Regions from separate parts of the Homo sapiens genome. Here region 2 is linked to region 1. The links are contacts of gene promoters, found by promoter capture Hi-C in blood cells and fetal thymus (Javierre and others, 2016). All regions are on one chromosome and are shown on one strand. The core of a region is centred on a gene start or on the middle of the fragment in contact, and the rest is flanking DNA. Distances in the headings are between cores, read along the strand shown. Region 1 holds the start of SECISBP2 (SECIS binding protein 2). Region 2 has its middle 33 kb from the start of SYK.

The links. The method cuts DNA at HindIII sites, captures the fragments that hold promoters and counts their contacts. A CHiCAGO score of 5 or more calls a contact.
Region 2: a contact is called between a fragment that was not itself captured here and the fragment with the promoter of SECISBP2 in region 1, in 2 of 17 cell types (total B cells and monocytes). The highest score is 6.9, in total B cells.

Annotation. Positions count from the first base shown.
Region 1 is chr9:89,315,842-89,320,490 of GRCh38, forward strand. SECISBP2 (SECIS binding protein 2) reads left to right here and starts at 2,659. Exons shown (of 17, transcript NM_024077.5): 1 at 2,659-2,771; 2 at 3,811-3,956. The coding sequence starts at 2,736. CKS2 (CDC28 protein kinase regulatory subunit 2) reads left to right here. Exons shown (of 3, transcript NM_001827.3): 3 at 532-862. The coding sequence ends at 584. RefSeq lists an enhancer at 2,309-2,528 and a silencer at 2,699-3,018. The HindIII fragment of the contact is 8,029 bases long and covers 1-4,135 here.
Region 2 is chr9:90,766,503-90,771,151 of GRCh38, forward strand. No RefSeq gene overlaps it. Among named protein-coding and RNA genes, the nearest start is that of SYK, 33 kb to the right of the region's middle. The HindIII fragment of the contact is 772 bases long and covers 1,628-2,399 here.

The DNA of each region.
Region 1 (4,649 bases), core at 1,409-3,908:
GGGTTAAATTTTATATTTGGATTATCAGTAAATCTAACAGCATTTATAATGCTTTGAACAAAATTTGAAGACATACTATAGAAGCTGAAGTAGGTGGAATTAAAACTATCTTCTACTCTGCTGTTAAAGAAAAGCATTGCATCGAAAACTCTAAAAGGACTCATCACTTTCTTGGGATTGAGATACGTAATCCTATTAGAATTCAGTCCAGATAATACAAAAGCAACTGAAGAACTTAAGTGTAGATTTCTGTGCCCCACCTATTGAAACAGAATCTATGGGGATGAGCATTAGTATGAGATCCTGTAGGTGATTTGAAGGAGGTGTTTTTCCCTATAAAGAGGTAATCTTTTTACTTTTAATCTATTTACTGTAGACAGTAACTGTGAAAAAAAAATCATTTTGGATACCTCAAACCAATTAATAGTGGACTTAGTTTATTTTATTCTGGCTTAGTTGAGAATACTTTTGAATTTCTGTTGAGTATATGAAAATCATATTAAAATGATTCAAAACATTTTCTTTCCACAGAACCACATATTCTTCTCTTTAGACGACCTCTTCCAAAAGATCAACAAAAATGAAGTTTATCTGGGGATCGTCAAATCTTTTTCAAATTTAATGTATATGTGTATATAAGGTAGTATTCAGTGAATACTTGAGAAATGTACAAATCTTTCATCCATACCTGTGCATGAGCTGTATTCTTCACAGCAACAGAGCTCAGTTAAATGCAACTGCAAGTAGGTTACTGTAAGATGTTTAAGATAAAAGTTCTTCCAGTCAGTTTTTCTCTTAAGTGCCTGTTTGAGTTTACTGAAACAGTTTACTTTTGTTCAATAAAGTTTGTATGTTGCATTTATCACTGTTTCAAGTTTTTGAGGTATATTTTCTTAATTTGTGACTATTGAAATTTGTGACTATTGAAATTGATTTCAGTGTTATAGTTTTAGCTCTGAGGAAGTTAACTTACCTTAAAGATGATGTTAAATGAGTTTAAAATAGTGCGGTATGATCTGGATACCATTTAATTCACTTAATGAAGAAATTAATTACCAGGGATATGTTTAAACTAAAGCCAAAGTAGATTTTACCTCTTGAATTCCTGGAGAATTGTCTAGAACAGGAAAGCCCAAATTAATACTATCTGGGCTACTTCACTGGCCACTGGTGGTCTTGGGAGAAACCTCTTTTTTATCCTCTTCTACATTTCCAAAGTAGGGATAATGTTTCCTATAAAGTATCACCACATTTTTAAAAGTTCAAAAACACTGTAAAACACCTTTGCCTTTTTAGCTGCTAGGAAAGTGTTTTGGAGTTATTCTAATTAATTGCTATGCTATAGAAACATCTTAAATGAGCAGCCAGCATACATCAGGTCCATTGGTTAAGAAAGGGTGTCTTTACACATGAGGGCAATAAATTTTGAAGGTTGTGATTAGCAGCATCCTAAAATCTACTGCCACTACCATAGGTTGTGTCCAGGGTAACCAACAGAAACATGACAAAATCAAGTAAACTTCATTACACTTCCGGGTAGACCCAATAGTGCTGAAAGGAAGGCGACAGCTACCCCTAAACTTCCAGCATAAATTCCTGCCAGACCAGACCCTAAGGATCACTTCTGCTAGAGGCTGTGTAGTGAACTGAGACCCACCAGGACAGAAATCTGAAAAAACTGGAGCTGCACCTGCCTTACTTGCTTGAAATACTTCGTATTCAATGGTAGAGTTAACGTCTGTGCAAGGGACAGAGGAAACCTACAATTTGCCTCAACCTAATCCCCATTCCTCAAATAGCCTGTTTTGCTGACATTTTCTGTTCCTTAAATCCACTTGCACTTTCCTCCAAGCCTTTGAGTGAGAGGAAAGTTCCTCCTCCATCTATTGAAATCCACTCTGCATTCTTCCCTGTACTTTTGGTCAACCTCCTATCCCTGCCGCACTTTATACATTTCTCTCAATATTTAACGAATTTGCTCTGTGTAGAACTTTTTTTTTCTCGTGAAAATTATACTATTCCATCTCTTGACCATATCTTAGCACTTTTTTTAATTTTTGAAAGAAACCGAGCGATTTTTAAATTATTTTCTGTGGCTACTTCCAAACTTAAGGTTTCTGGAAATTTAGGATACCATCAAGAGTCTTGTAGGCTTTCCAGGTTTGTAGGACCTACAGGGTATGCAATTCCTGTAAGTCACCAATCTTGGGGAAATTTTAGGGAAATGCAGTGGCGGGGGTGAGAGTAATCTCGGCCTCCTCAGTTTCCTTATTAGTAAATCTTTCTCTTCAGGTGACTGCTCAAAGGTCACCTCAGCGAGAGGCCTTTCCAGACTACCCCATCCCGTCCTAACGCTAGACTCGTGAGGCCCAGGGGAGAAAAGTAAATCACGGCCTAACTCTTGTTTATAGTCGCTACTGCCTTGGTGGAGACTATCTCCGATATCCCAGCACTAAAAGGCAGATCCAAGACTCCCGCAAGCTACGGTGGGTCCCCAGCCCAGAGGACTCCTGGGGGTCCCCATTTTCCGCAAGCGCCCCACTGCCTCCACGTGCTGCCCGCGCAGGTCCAGTGCCGCCGCCGCGTACTTCCGGCCGGAAGAAAGGGCGGGCTCTGTCGCTTTGCTGTGACGCACTTCCTGGCGTCGCCTGCGGGGGCGGAAACGCTTTGTCTGTCCGGCAAGCCGACGGCCCGCTGCTGGCCTCCGTGACGCGGCCTCCTCCGCGCCTCGCGGCATGGCGTCGGAGGGGCCGCGGGAGCCCGAAAGCGAGGTAAGGGCCGACGGGGGCTCTCTCGGCAGCCTCAGTCCGTCCGCCTGCCTCGCACTGGGGGCTCGGCCGGGCGGTGACGGGGCTGGTCCAGCGGGCGTGGGTCGGATGCTGGTGACGGCACGGGAGCGCCCTACCGGGTGGCCGCGATCTTCGCGCCCCGCCTCGGGTCCGCCTTGGGGTGGCGGTCAGCGGCTACAGACCCCGCCCACAGTTAGCGCCGCGTCTGTGGTGCGATGTCACCCAGCGCAGTGACTGCGGCCCAGCCCGGCGCTCCCCGCAGTCGGGGCGGGGGGACTCTGGCGAGCTTCCCGCGCTCTTGGGAACGGATAGATTGTTTTAAAGGATCCTGCGTTTTTCTGAACGTCATTCTCCGCTCTACGTACTCAGCATTACCACTAGATGGAGCCCTGGCGATCGCTTGCATCATTTTTAGACCCATAAAATTCTCGGTGAAAGTAAATCTCTTACTACGTCACTAAAAACTAAAGAAAGAAATCTTAGTGAATTGAAATTTCAAAGGCTCGTGGTGATAATATTTTCTAGCAAAGCAAGGTTTGGTATTTCAATAAAGCAAGACTTAGTGGTTCATGAGTAAAATGCATATGCTTTTGTGCAACTTTTTCAAGAAAATGTAATGGAAATAAACGTCTGCAGTGTGTTTTGGGTGCTGTAGTTAAACAGTCCACGTGTATTTGACTGCAGTAGTTGTACTGTGTGCAGTTCTATTATTTCTAAGTGAATCTGTGGTAAAAACACCCTTATTCCAAGATCTAAACTATATAATCTGTGTTGTTTTATTTCCACTTGAATTCGTTGTCATTTTTCACTTTTAATGTTTGAACTACTGCCTTTTCTACAAAAAAAAAAGCATTGGGGAGAAATCGTTAGCAAGCAGGTTCTTGTCTTTACGAGGCAGAAGTTTTTAAACAACATCGGGAACATTTCTGGGGCTATTAGGAACACCTCTTGGGTCTTTTTGTTTGTTTATATTTGCTTGATCTCTGAATGTTTGTGGCCAAAACCTCATATTTTTCCTCAGGGCATCAAGTTATCAGCAGATGTCAAACCATTTGTCCCCAGATTTGCCGGGCTCAATGTGGCATGGTTAGAGTCCTCAGAAGCATGTGTCTTCCCCAGCTCTGCAGCCACATACTATCCGTTTGTTCAGGAACCACCAGTGACAGAGTATGTATCTTTCTAAAAGTCTTACCTAGGGGCTTACATTTTGGATTTAATGGTGATTAGACTTTCAAATACTCAGCAGTTACTGCACTAAAGTTCTGCAGATGATGAGAGAATGCTCTTCAACCAAGAAGAGTCTGAGCCAGTAGCACAACTTAACTGTATCCTGTGCCAAAAACAGAAGCTTTAACTCCCCTTTTTTTTCTTCATACTCATTGTTATTTTCGGCAAAGAAATAGTAGAGACTGCATTGCATTTGTTAATAAGAAATGCAGTTTCAGGCCAGGCGCTGTGGCTCACGCCTGTAATCCCAGCACTTTGGGAGGCCGAGGTGGGTGGATCACCTGAGGTCAGGAGTTCAAGACCAGTGTGACCAACATGGTGAAACTCCGTCTCCACAAAAATACAAAAATTAATCAGGTATGGTGGCGGACACCTGTAATCCCAGGTATTCGGGAGACTGGGGCAGCAGAATCCTTTGAACCTGGGAGGCAGAGGTTGCAGTGGGCCAAGATAGCACCACTACACTCAAGCCTGGCTGACAGAGTGAGACTCTGTCTCAAAAAAAAAAAAAAAAAAAAAAAAATCCCGTTTCAAGGTTCATTTGTTCATATGGTTTAAAAATATATCATATATCTAATGGGAGATGAAATGTGGAGGGAAGGGCAAAGAAAGGACCAAATAAACGTACTCCTC
Region 2 (4,649 bases), core at 764-3,263, 1.5 Mb after region 1:
TCCCAGGCCTGAAGGAATTAAATCATTTTAAATTCTAGATGTAAAACAAAACAGAGAATTAGCAATGTTTCAAGCAAAAAGTTCATAAGCCCTGCCTAGTTTTGAGAATGACAATAAAGAAAGCTCACAGGTAGCTAAACATTTAAATTATTTGGTGTCAAGGCATAGAATAAGTTATATTAATTCAGTTAGAGGCAAGATTATTAAATGAATACAAGCTTTTCTCTTGTCTCATGAAAGCAGTTTACTTTGATTGTCTCCTTTGCCCAGGTTTAAAGACAAGGCTTTGGTTAACTTGAGTTTGATATTAGATACTGGCAGGAATTGGTGCCATCTCTAGATGAGCTATGCATACCCAAGAATAAAAGCCCTGTAATTTAACAGCACATGGATTAGTTAATAGCACCTGATAAGGAACTTGTCAGAGGGCTGGAGGTAGTGATACTGGAGTTCATGACCTGACTGGAAGCTGTAAAAAGATTTTATAACATTGCAGTGATTAATTTTTATAGCTTTGATAAACTCCAGCAACAAGCAAGAGATTTAAACTAGGATTCAATTCTAAGGGCATTTGTCAAAGGGGTTAAAGGCCCAAAATATTTGATCAGTGTGGAACTACAGGTTATTGTAAGCAATAGTTACTTATTTATCCAAAGTTAAATATCCTTGGCACTGTGATTACCTCTCCATATGGGAACTCCACTTAAATAACCTGAAAGTTGAGTTTGATGAAGAAAAACATAATACTTGAATTTAATCAGATGCAGGAAAAGTGTATTTAAGATTATGAGTGTAGCAGGGGAACTGAGAAAGTTTTCTGGTTACACTGAAAATTTAGAAACATCAAGAAAAACCAAGAGTATAGAATCAAGTTATATTGGAGAAAAACACAGCTTTTATAGACCTCTGAGACAAAACACTTTAGTATCAGGCCACAATAACACTCAGAACCAGAAGAGAAAATGTCACAGGAGCTGATGAAAAGGCTAAAGGACACAGTTATATGACTCTGAGAAGCAAGAGGCTTTTAAAAGAAATAGAATATGAAATCGAAAAGCAAAATTTTGGGTAATTTAGCAAATTAATACTGTAAGAAAATTTGGTTTGACATGGAGACTATTTTTAGAAAGTCTATTATATACAATTTTCTTTTAATTACAGCTAGCTTAATCACACATAAAATTCCTTTCATAAATTCCCCTTTATGAACCTTATCACAACTTACATATACCATCTACCACATGCTTGGACATTTTGACTTGTCCTATACTACCTCTTTCTTAAATAACCATTCATTTTCCTCTAGGACAAGAGTTTACTGTAGAATATCTTTTTATACAAAATTACTCTTTCTTTATATCCTTCCTTGCAAAAAAAAATACATTTTTTATCTAGAGATTTCTTTCTATCTCTTTTTTTTCCACTCATGGTTGCTTCATAATTTGAACCTCACCTTCAATGACTTCTGAATTTGACAAAAATTACTCCTTTTCCCAATAAAGAATATATTTTCCCTGGCACATTTTATATAAACCTAGGAGGCAAGAAATCCTGAACTTCCCAACAGACATTGGCATTCTGTAGATAAGAACCATTTCACAATTTTAAGGTTTTCAACTACACAAAAAGCTTGCTATTTAAAGCCATTTTAACCAGTTCAAAACCTACAAACAACAGTGGTTTACCTTAAAGTTAAATTGTAAAAGGCACTATATTATTTTCAAACTAACAAGTTCAGACTAGACTTACATGTTTAATTTATTCTTGCTCTTTTATTTATAAGCCAATCTGATAGCATGCTAGACACAGGACATGCCACAATACCTGTCTATACACACAAACACTTCAAACAAAGGGCCTATGCAGGATAACAGGATCCAAGTTATTTACAAAACTGGGACCTGTCTACCTGACCAAACTTTATTTGCCCCAATAGGCATGGAAGACAGGAAGAGGCAGGGAAGGGGATCCTGTAGCAGCCAATAAGGAAAGGAGGGGGCAAACTGTGTTACTGAAGGGGAGACCTGAGTCTCTGAGCTGCTGGAGAGCTCACCCAGCAGTGGAACACTGAAGAAAAATGTTCAGGCAGCCTCTAGTCTGCCACTGCAGGAAGCTGTTTGTCAGGTAAAGGATCTAAGATCCCTAGTAAACTTACTTGAGCAAAGCAGCTCATTGGGGCTAGTGGAAGAAGGTTAGCTCTAGAATTGATGGAGAGTTTTTTCTCTCTGTCAGTAGGGACAGTTAGGACAGTCTCATTGTCAACAGCCCTTTTGTTCATAGTAGGCACATTGATTCTGACCCAGGGGCCAGTCAGTTTGGGGCTCTCATCTGGGCATTCCAGACACTGATCTTGTGACACTTTCTTGGGATGGGTAACCCTGAGGAGGAAGAGGGCTTAAAGCTTATGCTAATAATTGCACTTTTTGGCTATTTCTTATGGTTTTGCCTCTTCTTCTCCTTTGTCACTTTTGTTCTTAACTCCAAAAACCGTCTTTAGGAGTTGGATTATGGGGGTGTGAGACCCCCTTGCTGCTGCTTTTTGTAGCATTTTCCTGATGTCAGGGGAAGATTGAGTAATAAAATGCATACCCAGGAGAGCCTGCCTTTCTGAGGAGTCTGGATCTGTGTTAGTATATTTCTTGAGTGCCTCAACCAAACGACCCTGAAACAGAGTGGGACTTTCATATTTTCCCTGAGTTATTTCTCTAACCTTGTCATAACTCATTGGCTAAACCACACCCGTTTCCCACTGCATTTCTTCCATAGCACAGCAAGTAAATGATAATACTTGCAAGTCATGACAAGTTAAATTAAAGAACATGGTCAACTTAAAAAACTCCTCTATAAACTTTTCTGGATCCTCTGAAAACTAGCCAAATTTTTTTTGTTAAATACAGCCAAATCAGACATAGAAAATAGCACATGTACTCTAAGTGCTCCCCAATTTTCATCAGCTACTTCTTGCAAGGGACACAGGTTTGACTTTTAGGGGCTGATATGGGGTCCACTTCTGGAGGTATTGGTTGGGCTTACTCTTTTGAGCAGTAAGAAGTATAGGCTGGAGCTAGCTGGATAAGGGGGAGAGGTGCCTGATGACCTTGGGATGGAATCCTTTGTTAGAGAACTGGCAGGACCCTCCTCAGAACGGCGGCACTGAGGAGGCTCCAGGGAGGGCATAGGCCTTCTGTGAGAGCAGCTAGGAATGCCACTTGATGCAGGGCAGGCCAGTCCCAAAACTGGGGCTTAGCCTGGGAAAATTGTTGGCTTCACTCAGGAAAGGTTTCAAGAATGAGCTGGTGGTAGAAAAAAATGGCTTTTATTGGGGCAACAGTGTTACAGCTCTGTGACTGCCTCTGCAGAACCAGGATACCTCAAAGGCCGTGTGTTTGAGTAGCAGTTCAGAGGCAGTTCTCCAGTTATATTTATACATACTTTTAATTACATGCAAATTAAGGGGTGGGTTACTCAGAAATTTCTAGAACAGAAGTGGTAACTTCCAGGTGTTGGCACGGCAGTCGTAAACCATCATGGTGCTGGTAGGCATGCCTCTTCCCTGTTTCAACCAGTCTTCAATCTGGCCCGAAGTGAAATCCCACCTGCCACCTCACCTCCAGTGGTGTCTGCAGTGACATTTTGTTCCCTCTTTCAAAATCGTTTTCAATGGGGTCTCTTGTGGGTGGGGCATTAAGCACAAGTGCTCAGCCAACTGCACTGAACCAGAAATTCTGCATCTGTGCTGACCAGAGATGCTTTCTGGAAAACCAAGTGTATAAACCATGGGGACCATGGGACACATGTCACGCTGCTCTCTCACACCTTCATGTATGTCCTTTAGTGTTGCGCAGCAGCAGCCTCTAAGGGAAGCAGCCCTGAGATGTACTTTTAAAACATTTTTACTATTTCATTTGATTTTTTACAACTATGAGTCACAGATGTTTTACTGGGGAAAAAAATATGTAGAAGACATGGCTGGATGTGTGTTATGAGAAAGAGGTCAAGTGCAAATGAGAAAAAGAGGAACTCATGAACCTCTTCTGCCTTTTGGTGAGTGGCCAGTCATTTGAAACTGTGAAGCAGAAGGTAGTGAGGGGCAGTTGTTCCTGTGGGTGCCAAGGGGAAACTTCCTCTTTGCCCTTGGAAGGGTCACTGAAAATCAACTGACAAGAGACAGATTAATTGGAGAAAAGGCACACATATTTATTAATGTGCACAGGAATCTTACAAAGATCTCCAAGAAATGGTAAGGAGGTTGAGACTTTTACACTATCTTTTTAAAGGCTTTTGATATAGGGTCTCACTCTCTTGCCCAGGCTGTAGTGCAATGGCAGGATCATGGTTACTGTAGCCTCAAACTCCTGGGCTCAAGCAGTCCTTCAAGCAATCCCGCCTCAGCCTCCTGAGTAGCTGGAACTGTAGGCCTGTGCCACCATGGCTGGCTAATTCTTTTCACTTTTTGTAGAGATGGGGGTCTCGCTATGTTGCCTTGAACTTGAACTCCTGGCCTCAAGTGATCCTCCTGCCTTGGCCTCCCAAAGTGCTGGGATTATAGGCAGGAGTCACCACATCCAGCCTATACACAGCTTAAGGTTACAGAAAAAATGTGGGCTTGGAGTACGGCCAAAAACTGGTTGCGGTGGTAAATCAGGTTA